Regions from separate parts of the Homo sapiens genome. Here regions 2 and 3 are each linked to region 1. The links are contacts of gene promoters, found by promoter capture Hi-C in blood cells and fetal thymus (Javierre and others, 2016). All regions are on one chromosome and are shown on one strand. Each heading gives the region's core, a stretch centred on a gene start or on the middle of the fragment in contact. The rest is flanking DNA. Distances are from core to core; before and after follow the strand shown. Region 1 holds the start of COPS7A (COP9 signalosome subunit 7A). Region 2 overlaps EMG1 (EMG1 N1-specific pseudouridine methyltransferase). Region 3 overlaps NCAPD2 (non-SMC condensin I complex subunit D2).

Region 1 (4,871 bases), core at 1,659-4,158:
AATGGCACAATCTTGGCTCACTGCAACCTCTGCCTCCTGGATTCAAGAGATACTCCTGTTTCAGCCTTCCGAGGAGCTGGGATTACAGGCATGCGCCACCACACCCGGCTAATTTTTGTATTTTTGGTAGAGATGAGATTTTATCATGTTGGCCAGGCTGGTCTCAAACTCCTGATCTCAAGACCTCAAGTGAGCCACCTGCCTTGACCTCCCAAAGTGCTGGGATTACAAGCATGAGCCACTCTGTCTGGCTCATTTCTTTCTTTCTTTCTTTTTTTTTTTTTTTTTTTGAGACGGAGTCTTGCTCCGTTGCCCAGGCGGAAGTGCAGAGACAGGATCTTGGCTCACTGCAACCTCTGTCCCCTTCTCCTTCCTCAGGGTTCAAGCAATTCTCCTGCCTTAGCCTCCTGAGTAGCTCGGATTACAGGGGTCTGCCACCACGCTCTGCTAATTATTATTTTTTTAGTAGAGATGAGGTTTCACCATGTCGGCCAGTCTGGTCTCGAACTCCTGGCCTCAAGCGATCCGCCTACCTTAGCCTCCCAAAGTGCTGGGATTACAGTCCTGAGCCACCACGCCCAGCTCGCTTATCTTTCTCAATACAGTGTTGGAATCAGACAAACTTGCATTTAGATCTCAGTTTCATCACAGACCGGTAACCTTCAACAAACTATTTAACTTCTGTATTCCTAAGTGTCCTCACAGGTGAATTGAGACACTAATATGCACCTCATAGGGTTGCAAAGATCGAATAAAAATTTGAACAATCGGCCGGGTGCGGCGGCTCGCGCCTGTAATCCCAGCACTTTGGGAGACAGAGGCCGGTGGATCACGAGATCAGGAGATCGAGACCATCCTGGCTAGCATGGTGAAACCACAGCTCTACTAAAAATACAAAAATTAGCCGGGCATGGTGGCGCGTCCCTGTAATCCCAGCTACTTGGGAGGCTGAGGCAGGAGAACCGCTTGAACCTGGGAGGTGGAGGTTGCAATGAGCCGAGATTGTGCCGCTGCACTCCAGCCTGGGCCATAGAGCAAGACTGTCTCAAAAAAAAATAAATAAGATAAAAATTTGAACAATCGAGGCTGCAGTGAGCTGTGATCGCATCACTGCACGCCACCCTGGGCAACAGAGTGAAACCATGCCTCTAAAAAAAAAAAAAAAAAAAAAAAAAAAAAAGTAAAAAATGAACAAATAAAGCACTTGGCGCAAAATAGAACAAATACGGGTTATTTTCTCATCCCTTCATCTTACATGTTTTTCCCTTCTCTCTAAAAATGATAAGCTTGGCCGGGCGCAGTGGTTTACGCCTGTAATCCCAGCACTTTGGGAGTCTGAGGCGGGCGGATCACGAGGTCAGGAGATCGAGACCATCCTGGCTAACACGGTGAAACCCCGTCTCTACTAAAAATACAAAAATTAGCCGGGCGTAGTGGCGGGCGCCTGTAGTCCCAGCTATTCGGGAGGCTGAGGCCAGAGAATGGCGTGAACCCGGGAGGCGAAGCTTGCAGTGAGCCGAGATCGCGCCACTGCACTCCAGCCTGGGCGACAGAGCGAGACTCCGTCTCAAATTAAAAAAAAAAAAAAAAGATAAGCTTGGGGCGGGGAGGGGTGGATGCAAAATAATAATAATAATGTTTGGACTCATTAATTCCTTGCTTCCTTCAAACTCTGAATATTTTATTATGCCTTTGATTCCTTCTACTCACTTTTGTTTCACCTTTTCCATTCATTTCTTCTTCTCCTCTTCCTCCTTTCTCTTTCCTTTCTGTGTTTCTGCTTATTTTCTATCACAAACCAAAATATGCGGACCATAAACTGCATCTGCAGTTCCTTTAGCCCTAACAGACTACGAGTCCTATTTCTCTTTATCTTTCTCTTTTTCACTTTCTTGTCTTTCCATTACTTACAAGTTTCTTAATTTTCCTGAGTTCAGTTTTTCCATCTGGAAAGTGGAGATAACAATTACTAGATCGTTGTATCAGATGAATTAAGTAATGCTCATGGCTTAACACAAAGGCCAAGATGTCATTAACTTTACCCTCACTTGACCTTCTGCAAGCCTGTTGTGAAATATAAAACACTATAGAAATGTTAGTTGTTTTTGTTTTTATTAAAGTATCATATTGAAGTAGAAAGATGGTTTTGAGTTTGAAAAGCTCCAGATAAATCCTTGGATTTTTATGAGCCTCAATTTCCTTTTCTGTAAAATGAGAACCACATAGGGTTTTTTCCTCCCCAAGAAATTAAGAGTCCATGTACTGAAAGCATCATTCTACAAGTATTAATACATATGTAGTAATCATGGTAGAGGGTGTCCTGAAGTCACAGGGGAATATTTGTGAGGATTCAACGGAATAAAATTTTAAAAGATGTCTGACCAATAGTAAGCACTCAATACATGTTAGCTTTATTCTCTCTTTTATTTTTCTCGCTTCTTTTCTCCTGCTCTTCAAAAAAGTGAGTGGTTGAACCACCTAGGTGATCTCTGCTGCTAAACTTCTATTATTGATTTTTGTTTGCTTCCTCTCTGCCCCTTGTTTCCTCATCCCGTTTTTTTCCCTCTTCTTCACTCCTTCCGTTACAGCTTTTCTCTTGCCTCAGGTACCCAGTGCAGTCCTGATCTCCAGCTCTCCAGCGGCTTAGAACAGACACAGAATGGGCCGGGACCAGGGACCCACCAGAGACGTCTGTAGTTAATAGCTGGCGCTCTTCCACTAATAAAGTTTTATTGAAATAAAGCATTTAAAAAGGCGCCCGTCATTCTTCCCCCAGCGACCAATCGAAGAGTAGAATGCCTGCGTCCCTCACTGGAGCTTCAGCGGTCGGAACGCGGGGGTGGGGCATGTCCTGCCGAAATTTGCGTCCTTAGAGCGGAAGTACGGCCGGAAGCCCGCCATAGAGTTTAGTGGCCAGAGCGACTCTTCAGGGAGGTGGCAGGAAAGGCTTGGAACAGCTGCCGGAGGTGACGGAGCGGCGGCCCCGCCCGGTGCGCTGGAGGTCGAAGCTTCCAGGTAGCGGCCCGCAGAGCCTGACCCAGGGTACGACGAAGCAGTCGGCGGGAGCCCACGGTCGCTGGGCGGTGTCTTTAAGGGAGGGGGCGGAGCCACGTGTAAGCTTCAATGGGGGTGAGGTCACGTGGTTGTGGGCGCGTGCGGGGCAGCAATGGAGAGCTGAGGGAGCGTCGTCAGGGTGGACACCATGCGACACCCATTTCTCCTTTGCATCCTGTGTCTTGGGGTTCAATGGGGTGCACGTGATGGGGCTTGGGGTTAGGCCCAGGGGAGGGGGTGGGTGTGGCAGCCTTGCGAAGTGGCTGACTTTAGGATTCCTAGATCAGAATTTTAGACCGCTCCATGTCTGATTCCTCACCGCAGAACCGACTTAGTGCCTTTACAATCCAGTCCCTCAGCCTTGTGCTTCCCATCCGACCAGCCATCGGGGACCTCTAGCTTCACATCCTCTTTCCTTGCAGCTCTGGACATCCTGAGCCCAAGTCCCCCACACTCAGTGCAGTGATGAGTGCGGAAGTGAAGGTGACAGGGCAGAACCAGGAGCAATTTCTGCTCCTAGCCAAGTCGGCCAAGGGGGCAGCGCTGGCCACACTCATCCATCAGGTGCTGGAGGCCCCTGGTGTCTACGTGTTTGGAGAACTGCTGGACATGCCCAATGTTAGAGAGGTGGGTTGCTGGCTTGAATAGCCCTCAGAGAAGCGTGGGCAAAGGTTTGAATTTGAGAATGGGTGGGCAGGGCTCATTTTGTGATCCAATAACCATTCAGTTGAACAAGAAAACAGTGATAATTAAATGCCAACTTGCAGAAGTAACCAGTGAACAAGCAAACCAGCTCTCCTTTGGAGATAAGGGATCTGTAAAGCCCACTATTTTTCATTTTAAGCAAAAGAGCATCCTATTCAGAATAGGAAACCTGATTTCCAGCCGGTCTCCACCAGTGTAGTAGCTGTTAATTCTCATGTCACCTTGATCAGGTCACTTTTGTTTTAGGGCTTCAGCTTTCTCTTTTTTTTTTTTTTTTTGAGACGGAGTCTTGCTCTGTCACCCAGGCTGGAGTGCAGTGGCGTGATCTCAGCTGAGTGCAAGCTCTGCCTCCTGGGTTCACGCCATTCTCCTGCCTCAGCCTCCTCAGTAGCTGGGACTACAGGCGCCCGCCACCATGCCCGGCTAACTTTTTTGTATTTTTAGTAGAGATGGGATTTCACTGTGTTAGCCAGGATGATCTCGATCTCCTGACCTCGTGATCCGCCCGCCTTGACCTCCCAAGGTGCTGGGATTACAGGCTTGAGCCACCGCACCTAGCCAACTTTCTCTTTTAAAAATGGAGACAATACTGCCCCTCTCTGTTGTGGGAATAAAGTGAGATTATGGGAAAGTGTGAAGTCTGGTACAAGTGGAGAGTGAACATGTTAAATTAGCATGCCCTTTTCTTCCCTATGTGCAGCATATGCTAATCTATTCAAGTTAGCTAAGGGAGAACGTGTCTTTTTCCCAGAGACACATGGCAAACTGCTAGGAACACAGCAGAGAGAACCGTTCACACAAAAGTGGCAGAGTTAATTTACAATCAGAGGAGGCAGCCTGAGTCCTGACATGCTGACAGTGGTATGTGGGTAAACTGAGCTAAGTTATTTGGGGCCTGTGGTTTAACCTTTTGGATCACTCTGTGATATGGAGAAAACTGGCTGACTTTTCCCTGCTTTCATCTGCAGTGGAACTAAAGAGTATCAATCAAAGTGATGAAAAAGAAGCACTTGGCTGGGTGCGGTGGCTCATGCCTGTAATCCCAGCACTTTGGAAGGCCAAGGCAGGTGGATCACCTGAGGGCAGGAGGTGAAACCGATATGGCAGAATCC
Region 2 (4,804 bases), core at 2,305-4,804, 250 kb after region 1:
AGAGTGGATGTAGAAAGCAGAGAGGGGTGAAAGATGCTTTTGAAGGAAGGTGGCTTGGTTGGCTTTGCGTTGATTTGACATCCTGGGATGGTAGTACTCATTTTTCTTTCTTTTTTTTTTTTTTTTTGAGACGGAGTCTCGCTCTGTCGCCCAGGCTGGAGTGCAGTTGCGCGACCTCGGCTCACTGCAACTTCTGCCTCCCGCCTTCAAACAGTTCTCCTGACTCAGCCTCTGGAGTAGCTGGGACTACAGGCAGGTGCCACCACGCCCGGCTAATTTTTTTGTATTTTTAGTTCAGATGGGGTTTCACCATGTTGGCCACGCTGGTCTCGAACTCCTGACCTCAAGTGATCCGCCCGCCTCGGCCTCCCAAAGTGTTGGGATTAGAGGCGTGAGCCACTGTGCCCGGCCGGTAGTACTCATTTTCTTTTGCTCTTTTTGAATGATATTCTAGCCCTCACCTCCTTGCTTCCAATTGGTTTACCAGGATTCTGTGGTATAGTAGTCTAAGCAGAGGAAAGTTTCGTTCCTTGCGTCATTCCACATCCCAAGACAAGTTACTGGGCAGATGAGAAACGTAGTTATGTAGCCTAGTCTGCCCACACTTTTTGTAAGGGCTTCGTGTTTCAATTCATTAGTATCCATAGTCACCTCTCTCTAATATCCACCTATGATACACTGTCCAGACCTGGTTATTATTTAAAACTTTTACATCTGCATTTTTATCTATCATTCATCTCTTTCCCCACATGTAATAGAACCAGCAGTTCTCTATCTTAAAGCCTTGGGCAGTGTTCTTCCTCCTCCTTTCTCTTACCCGTTAGAACTAATTGAATAGGCCCAGAAGAAATCGCATTGGTTTAGAAGTCAGGCCAGGATTTTAATCTTCGTTCTAAATACACTTTTTTTTTTTTTTTTTTTTGAGATGGAGTCTCAGTCTCTACCAGGCTGGAGTGCAGTGGCACGATCTTGGCTCACTGCAGCCTCCGCCTCCCGGGTTCAATCGATTCTCCTGCCTCAGCCTCCAGAGTAGCTGGGATTACAGGCCTGCGCCTGTAATCTATTAAAAGAATAGAAAACATGATTATATCCTACTAATGGGTTGAAACTGTATTATTCATTCAAGAAGGTTTTTTTCTTCTATAACTAAGGGTGTCTCATGGACTTAGTTCTTGGTCATTTGTTCTTTGTGCTCTCTGTGACATTACTTCAACTATTCAATTTCAAAATCTACATCCCTTTTTTCGCAGACTTTTTGGAGCCATATATCTCAAGAATGTTGCTAGACATATACATTCCAGTGATACATAAAAACTTAACCTTCCAAAACTTGTATTTGTATATAACAGTTTGTTTTTAGACTTTTTACTGACCACCCTAATGCTCCTTGGGACTCCAAATTGCAACTTGGAATTATTTCTTTTAGCTGCTACAGATGTAGTCCACTTCTTTAACATCAAACTTCTGATGTCTTTTCCAGTGTACAGAGAGTTGTTAGGATAGTGTCTGTCAGTCATTCCCATCCTGCCCTGCTTACTCCAGAATTATTTTTGGCTTTGTGCTTGATACATTAGGATTCTGTGGTTTACAAAGCAGCTTCATATATAATCACTGCCCTTTAGTGTCTCAGCTCCCAATTTTCCTCAAAATTTCCTTTCTTCGTTTCCACTTTTTCTTTTTTGTTTCTTTTTTGAGATAGGGTCTTGCTCTGTTGCCTGGGCAACAGAGTGCAGTGGTGTGATGGTTCACTGCAGCCTCTACTTCCCTGGCTCAAGCAGTCCTCCCACCTCATCCTCCTGAGTAACTGGGACTGCCAGCAAATGGCACTGCGCCTGGCTAATTTTTTTTTTTTTTTTTGTGAGACAGGGTCCCACCGTGTTGCCCAGGCCGGTCTCAAATTCCTGGGCTCAAGTGATCCTTCCACCTCGGCCTCCTAAAGTGTTGGGATCACAGGCATAAGCCACCACACCTGGCTACTTTGTCTTGATTCCATCTGTACCTTTGCTCATGCCAGTCTTTCTTTTTTCTTTTTTTTGAGACAGGGTCTTGCTGGAGTGCAGTGGTACAGTCTTGGCTCACTGCAATCTCTGTCTCCTGGGCTCAAGCCATCCTCCCACCTTAGCCTCCCAAGTAGCTAGGACTACAGGCATGTGCCACCATGCCCAGCTAATTTTTGTATTTTTAGTAGAGATGGGGTTTCGCCATGTTGCCCAGGCTGGTCTTGAACTCCTGACCTTAAGTGATTTGCCTGCCTTGGCCTCCCAGAGTGCTGGGATTACAGCCGTGAGCCACTGCATCTGCCCCCATGCCCGTCTTAAAACTGGGAATAACCCCTCTTCCTTTTACTTCTGAGAGTTTTCTTTGATTAAACTGCCTCCTGCATCATTAGTTTTCACATTTCTTTTTTTTGAGATGGAGTCTCGCTCTGTTGCCCGGGCTGGAGTGCAGTGGCGCTGCAAGCTCCGCCTCCTGGGTTCATGCCATTCTCCTGCCTCTGCCTCCCAAGTAGCTGGGACTACAGGCGCCTGCCACCATGCCCGGCTAATTTTTTATATTTTTAGTAGAGATGGGGTTTCACCGTGTTAGCCACGATGGTCTCAATCTCCTGACCTTGTGATCTGCCCGCCTCGGCCTCCCAAAGTGCTGGGATTACAGGCGTGAGCCACCACGCCCGGCCTTCACATTTCTTGTTCAGATTTGCAGCTCTTCACTTAGTGCATGTTTGGTGTACGCAAACTGAGGGTGGTGACTCGATATTTTGCACAGTACCTACTTACTGCTCCTGTAATAAACACAGCATTCAGCCTTGCTAACTACTAACTCCTGCCTAGTTCCAGGATGTCTCATTGGCCTTGCCTAACAGCCACAGGTTTTTTAATTAAATCCAGTGTATTAGTAGATAATGTGAAGTCACAGGTTGTGCCCTTCCTCCTGTTTCCCTCTCAGACCATTCACTGGGGAGTGCAAATAAGGCTGCACAGTAATCCCCCGAAGGGCTTGCTGGGCTCCACCCCCAGTGTTCCTGGTTTAGTAGGTCTAGGGTGGGCCTGAGAATTTGCCTAACAAGTTTCCAGGTGCAGCTGCTGCTGGTAGTTTGGGGACCACACTTGAAGAACCACGGGGCTAGGTAACAGAAGCTTATGCTGTTCTCTCGTCATGTTCCCTGTTCTTCAGGTAGGGAAGACATATGAGCTACTCAACTGTGACAAGCACAAGTCTATATTGTTGAAGAATGGACGGGACCCTGGGGAAGCGCGGCCAGATATCACCCACCAGGTAACTCCAGGGACAGTGCTCACAACCCTTTGAGCCTCTGTATGGAAGGGTTGGCAGCTGAGTGCTGCCTCTCTTCAGCCTTAACCATGTCTCGGTTTCTGCTTTGCTCAGAGTTTGCTGATGCTGATGGATAGTCCCCTGAACCGAGCTGGCTTGCTACAGGTTTATATCCATACACAGAAGAATGTTCTGATTGAAGTGAATCCCCAGACCCGAATTCCCAGAACCTTTGACCGCTTTTGTGGCCTCATGGGTAAGAAGCCTTAGAACAAAGTTAGAATGAACTTGTCAGTAGGGAAGAAGGGAGGAAGAGGAAAAGGGAGAACTAAATGTGGATTTTTAAGCGAGAAAATGGGAGAACAACATGATTAATACCAGGACAAGGACTGTTATTATTTTTCTATGTTTGTGGAAACTCCACTCCTGTTCTTGCAGTAGCTTCCTGGCTGAGTGAAAGAGGGAGTCTGAACCCATCACTGTACAGCTAGCCATATGCTTGGCAACTGTTTGTTCCTAACATTTCAGGAGTCCAGTCTAGATATAAAGCACACAGGGAACTCATCTTATCCATGGGGTTTTCCTTGTTCGATGACTGGACAGAAGGACTGTGGTCTCCATCTAGCTCTGAACTCTTTTTTCCCCCTTCTAGTTCAACTTTTACACAAGCTCAGTGTTCGAGCAGCTGATGGCCCCCAGAAGCTTTTGAAGGTGAGGTATTGAAACCTGTTAGTTGAAGGCTGGTTCTGGGAATGTTTCTGGGGCTGACTTTTCTCTCTTTTTTACTTTAGGTAATTAAGAATCCAGTATCAGATCACTTTCCAGTTGGATGTATGAAAGTTGGCACTTCTTTTTCCATCCCGGTTGTCAGTGATGTGCGTGAGCTGGTGCCCAGCAGTGATCCTATTGTTTTTGTGGTAGGGGCCTTTGCCCATGGCAAGGTAAGGTCTGGGCTCAACCCTGAAATTCTTGGTAGAGCTGAACTTAGTATAGAATTCCCAGAGCAGTAGGCATTTTAACAATGCTTACAATGAGCTAGAAGACACATGACAGTTCCACACCCTGCCCCAGGGCACATCCTTTGAGGGCTGCTGCCATAATTGGAAGTCACAGTTAGGACCTTCTTCATCCTTTGTAGGGATTTGATATTCAACAGCACAGCTGAAATACTAGCTCAGCCATAGTTTTCCTGCCCTAAAGAAGGGCTGAAACAGCTACTGAGTGACAGAGTTGGCTGACAAAACTGTTCTTTTCTTAGGTCAGTGTGGAGTATACAGAGAAGATGGTGTCCATCAGTAACTACCCCCTTTCTGCTGCCCTCACCTGTGCAAAACTTACCACAGCCTTTGAGGAAGTATGGGGGGTCATTTGACAGTAGTAGAACCTGTTCTGAAACCAGAAACTGTTGATGTCACATCCTTTGACCCTGGTCTGAGCTGACTGCTGGAAGATGATCTTTCTGCACTGAGACTGTGGAGTTTGGGGAAGCCAAGGCTGTACATTTGCTATTTGTTTATCCTATGAATACTGT
Region 3 (4,871 bases), core at 1,547-4,046, 190 kb before region 1:
TAAAAATCGGATTCAGGTTTGATGGGACTTAAAAATGTCTCTTTGCCCCACCTTCCCTCTCCCTCTCCTCCAGAGGAGTCCCCCGCAATGCTCCCCACTTTCCTGTTGATGAACCTGCTGTCCCTGGCTGGGGATGTGGCTCTGCAGCAGCTGGTCCACTTGGAGCAGGCAGTGAGTGGAGAGCTCTGCCGGCGCCGAGTTCTCCGGGAAGAACAGGAGCACAAGACCAAAGATCCCAAGGAGAAGGTGTGTGAATGTCCTCAGCACTTCCCAGATTTATTTCATACCTCAGCTCAGAACTGAGCTGATCCCCTTCCGGCAATCTCTGCTCCTCTGCTATTACATGAAGCGAAGAGTTTCTGCCTCTCTGTGGCTACTACCGTAGGAAAGGTTCGTGTGAACAATGACGAAACTGTCAGTGATCACCCAGGAAGGAAAGATTTAGGTAAATGCAGAGTGTGGAGTTAGAGACCTCAGCATAAAACAGAGGCTTTGTGTCTGAGGCAGGGTTTGTTAGAACACGCACGTACCCGCCGGCCTTTTCCATCAGCTTCCATTGCTGGCCTGGCCCCGGATGGGGCCCTGTGTTCCCTCCACTAGAGGCAATGATGTCTTGCAGACAAATAAGACACAGAGCCTTGCAGCGCTGGAGAAAAGTCTGACCTCTGTGACTTTGAACCATTGTCTGGCGTGATCCATCTGTTTACCATATATAGGAAACGATGTCTTCCATGAGGAAGAGGTGCAGAAACACGCTTTGGCAACTTAAAACAAATGGGGACCTCATTGTTCCCCTGCTTAATTCAGGAATCCTTTCTCTTTACAGACACATTTGACAATTCTCTAAATGTTTTTGTAGAATTTGCCCTTCCTCACTTTGTTCATGCAAAACAAAGTATGGGCTGGAATCAAAAATGTTGTCTCTGCTTATCCATGATCCCCAATTTCATTCCCTTTAGAATACGAGCTCTGAGACCACCATGGAGGAGGAGCTGGGGCTGGTTGGGGCAACAGCAGATGACACAGAGGCAGAACTAATCCGTGGCATCTGCGAGATGGAACTGTTGGATGGTAAGAAAAATGGCTGCACTCAGCAGTTTCTTCCCAATTAAGATAACCTGTCCCAAACCTGCAGTTACTCTTCCAACAGGCAAACAGACACTGGCTGCCTTTGTTCCACTCTTGCTTAAAGTCTGTAACAACCCAGGCCTCTATAGCAACCCAGACCTCTCTGCAGCTGCTTCACTTGCCCTTGGCAAGTTCTGCATGATCAGGTAGGCCGTGGGGTTGGTACCCCCTTCTCAAGGAAGATGGGGATGAAATGGCTTCCCTAATGATCCTCTTCTTGCTCTTAGTGCCACTTTCTGCGACTCCCAGCTTCGTCTTCTGTTCACCATGCTGGAAAAGTCTCCACTTCCCATTGTCCGGTCTAACCTCATGGTTGCCACTGGGGATCTGGCCATCCGCTTTCCCAATCTGGTGGACCCCTGGACTCCTCATCTGTATGCTCGGTAAGAGACCCCTCACAACGTGGTGGCAGTTCCCAGGAGCCCCGGAGTCTGTTGAGAGTCAGTGTGAGAATCACCAGGGCTCTTCCCCTAGGCTTTGGCATCACCGCGAACATCTGCTTGATACTTGACCTGTACAGGCCCCTGGCTAAGAGTCACCCCAGTGGGACTGACACTTCTGGTTAGAAGCTTCACCTCTTTCCCCCACTCCAGCTTTCAACTCTAGACAGCTTTCTGACTGCTTCTGGAGTGGCAGAGCATGGGATAATTGATTCCTGCTGAGGGCCTTTTCTACCAGTGTTAGGGTGTAGCCCGGAGGTCTCGGTCCCCATGACCCGCAATTCCATTCCTAGTCTCCGGGACCCTGCTCAGCAAGTGCGGAAAACAGCGGGGCTGGTGATGACCCACCTGATCCTCAAGGACATGGTGAAGGTGAAGGGGCAGGTCAGCGAGATGGCGGTGCTGCTCATCGACCCCGAGCCTCAGATTGCTGCCCTGGCCAAGAACTTCTTCAATGAGCTCTCCCACAAGGTGAGAGGCAGAGAGGCACTGAGGGCTGGCTGCAGAGGGAATCTGTAGGTCACCTCATCTCCTTAACATGGCTCTCTCTGTCTTACAGGGCAACGCAATCTATAATCTCCTTCCAGATATCATCAGCCGCCTGTCAGACCCCGAGCTGGGGGTGGAGGAAGAGCCTTTCCACACCATCATGAAGTATTGCTCCCCGGGCCCTGGGGCACATTTTCCACATAGCACGGGCTTAGGAATCAGACACACCTGTATTTGAATTCCACCTCGGCTACTCTTTAGCTGTACAGCCTTCGGCAATAACTTAGCCTCTCTTTGTGCCTATTTCCTCTTCTTTTGAGGCTGATGATACTTAACCCTTAGTTCTTGAAAATATTAAATACGATAAAGTTCCTAACATGGTGGCAGACATACAGTAGCACTCACTCCCTAGCAGCTGCTCCTGTTAATTTCCATTCACAGTGAAAATTCCTGAGCCGGGGGCGGGGTGGGGTCCCTCTCTGCTGAATGGGACAGGGCAAGGGGAGTGGTGAGGCAGACAGGGGCCGTGGCAGAGAACATCAGAGAAGACGAGTGCTGGGGGAGGGTCCAGGGTTGGTCTTAGTGGATGGCAGAGCTGGCCCTGGGCCATCGAACATCCTCATCTCCCCTTCCTGCAGACAGCTCCTCTCCTACATCACCAAGGACAAGCAGACAGAGAGCCTGGTGGAAAAGCTGTGTCAGCGGTTCCGCACATCCCGGTATGCTGCCCTCCCTGAGGGTTCTTTGTGCTGAGCGGGGCCCTGCAGGGGAGAAAGGCCCATCCCTCACCCCTTCAATGCCCCCACTGTGGCATCCCTGGGACTGGGGAGGCTGATGGGGAAGGTTGAGCCTTTACTAGCTGGATCTCCCAGTTCCTCACAAAGCCCTTCCTATCTGCAGAACTGAGCGGCAGCAGCGAGACCTGGCCTACTGTGTGTCACAGCTGCCCCTCACAGAGCGAGGCCTCCGTAAGATGCTTGACAATTTTGACTGTTTTGGAGACAAACTGTCAGATGAGTCCATCTTCAGTGCTTTTTTGTCAGTTGTAGGCAAGCTGCGACGTGGGGCCAAGCCTGAGGGCAAGGTGAGCAGCACAGGACACTTCAATGCCTGTTGGGTTCTGGGCTGGCTAAGACATCTGCCGGCCCTGGGCAGCATACGGCTCTTGCAGTCACCTTCCCGTCCTCCTTATCCCCAGCTGGGTTGCAACCAAATTGCCAGAGTGACCTAAGACCAGATCTTTGTCTCCAGTTCTTTTTTTATTACTCCAAAAACACAACCAAAGCAGCATCTCATCCAATTCTTGTTTGTTTGTTTTTAATAGTTTTTATTTTTCAGAGCAGTTTTAGGTTCAAAGCAAAATTGAGCAGAAAGTACAGGGAGTTCCCTTCTACCCCTTGCCCCTACACATCACAGCCTTCCCCACCTTCAACATCCTGCACCAGGGTGGCACATTTGTTACAGCTGAACCTACACTTACACATCATCTCCTAAAGTCATGGTTTACCTTGGAGTTCACTGCACGTAATGACATGTACCCACCATTGCAGTATCATACAGAAGAGTTTCACTGCCTTACAAATCCCCTGCACTCCACCTATTTATCCCTCTCTCCCCACAACCCCTGATCTTTTTACTGTTGCCATCACTTTGTCTTTTCCAGAATGTATCATTGGAATGATCCGGTATGGAGCCTTCTCACCTTGGCTTCTTAGTAATGTGCGTTTAAGGCCTCCATGTCTTCCATGGCCTTGTTTCTTTTTAATCAGAAGTAACTGTTTTCAGGCCTGCTCTGAATCTCCTTTTCTCCCTCCAGGCTATAATAGATGAATTTGAGCAGAAGCTTCGGGCCTGTCATACCAGAGGTTTGGATGGAATCAAGGAGCTTGAGATTGGCCAAGCAGGTAGCCAGAGAGCGCCATCAGCCAAGAAACCATCCACTGGTACGTAAGGCAGCCTGTGCGGGCGAGACCAGACTGGGCCCTCCCCTCCTGCAGTGATTTGTTTCTTCTTCTTTTTTAAATCACGTTTTCCTGCCTTTTCTAGGTTCTAGGTACCAGCCTCTGGCTTCTACAGCCTCAGACAATGACTTTGTCACACCAGAGCCCCGCCGTACTACCCGTCGGCATCCAAACACCCAGCAGCGAGCTTCCAAAAAGAAACCCAAAGTTGTCTTCTCAAGTGATGAGTCCAGTGAGGAAGGTATGATGCTCCCGCCTGTTCCCGGCCGAGAAGGCACACAGCTAGGGTGCAGAGGGCTGGTTTCCATAGGACCTGCTGCGGGGGCCTGAGTGTAGATGCTCTGCCCCACTGCCGCAGAAGGGCCTCTCCTGTACAGCTTGGATTTTATTTCTTCTGTGCGGTGTGGGATTGTCTCACTTGTTCTCTGATATCTATTTTTTCACCATCTTTGTGACTCAGCTTTTTCTTATTCCTTTAATTCTTTGCATAGATCTTTCAGCAGAGATGACAGAAGACGAGACACCCAAGAAAACAACTCCCATTCTCAGAGCATCGGCTCGCAGGCACAGATCCTAGGAAGTCTGTTCCTGTCCTCCCTGTGCAGGGTATCCTGTAGGGTGACCTGGAATTCGAATTCTGTTTCCCTTGTAAAATATTTGTCTGTCTCTTTTTTTTAAAAAAAAAAAAGGCCGGGCACTGTGGCTCACGCCTGTAATCCCAGCACTTTGCGATACCAAGGCGGGTGGATAACCTGAGGTAGGGAGTTCGAGACCAGCCTGACCAACATGGAGAAACCCCATCTCTACTAAAAATAAAAAATTAGCCGGGCGTATTGGCGTGCGCCTGTAATCC

What was found. Contacts are between HindIII fragments. The CHiCAGO score rates a contact against its expected background, and 5 or more counts as called.
Region 2: a fragment that was not itself captured here is called in contact with the fragment with the promoter of COPS7A in region 1 in 3 of 17 cell types (non-activated CD4 T cells, total B cells and activated CD4 T cells); the score reaches 9.2 in non-activated CD4 T cells.
Region 3: a fragment that was not itself captured here is called in contact with the fragment with the promoter of COPS7A in region 1 in 1 of 17 cell types (activated CD4 T cells); the score reaches 5.5 in activated CD4 T cells.

What each region holds. Positions count from the first base shown.
Region 1 is chr12:6,721,138-6,726,008 of GRCh38, forward strand. It overlaps COPS7A (COP9 signalosome subunit 7A), which reads left to right and starts at 2,909. Exons shown (of 8, transcript NM_001164094.2): 1 at 2,909-3,042; 2 at 3,477-3,681. The coding sequence starts at 3,520. RefSeq lists enhancers at 2,834-3,043, 3,074-3,213, 3,344-3,563. The HindIII fragment of the contact is 1,412 bases long and covers 1,595-3,006 here.
Region 2 is chr12:6,971,165-6,975,968 of GRCh38, forward strand. It overlaps EMG1 (EMG1 N1-specific pseudouridine methyltransferase), which reads left to right. Exons shown (of 6, transcript NM_006331.8): 2 at 3,175-3,276; 3 at 3,388-3,529; 4 at 3,926-3,984; 5 at 4,065-4,214; 6 at 4,532-4,804. The coding sequence ends at 4,645. Among named protein-coding and RNA genes, the nearest start is that of EMG1, 2.7 kb to the left of the region's middle. RefSeq lists enhancers at 1-26, 1-56. The HindIII fragment of the contact is 838 bases long and covers 3,136-3,973 here.
Region 3 is chr12:6,526,818-6,531,688 of GRCh38, forward strand. It overlaps NCAPD2 (non-SMC condensin I complex subunit D2), which reads left to right. Exons shown (of 32, transcript NM_014865.4): 22 at 74-246; 23 at 960-1,071; 24 at 1,151-1,274; 25 at 1,356-1,511; 26 at 1,862-2,039; 27 at 2,128-2,222; 28 at 2,696-2,776; 29 at 2,958-3,141; 30 at 3,874-4,000; 31 at 4,104-4,259; 32 at 4,510-4,871. The coding sequence ends at 4,595. Among named protein-coding and RNA genes, the nearest start is that of GAPDH-DT, 5.2 kb to the right of the region's middle. The HindIII fragment of the contact is 2,203 bases long and covers 1,696-3,898 here.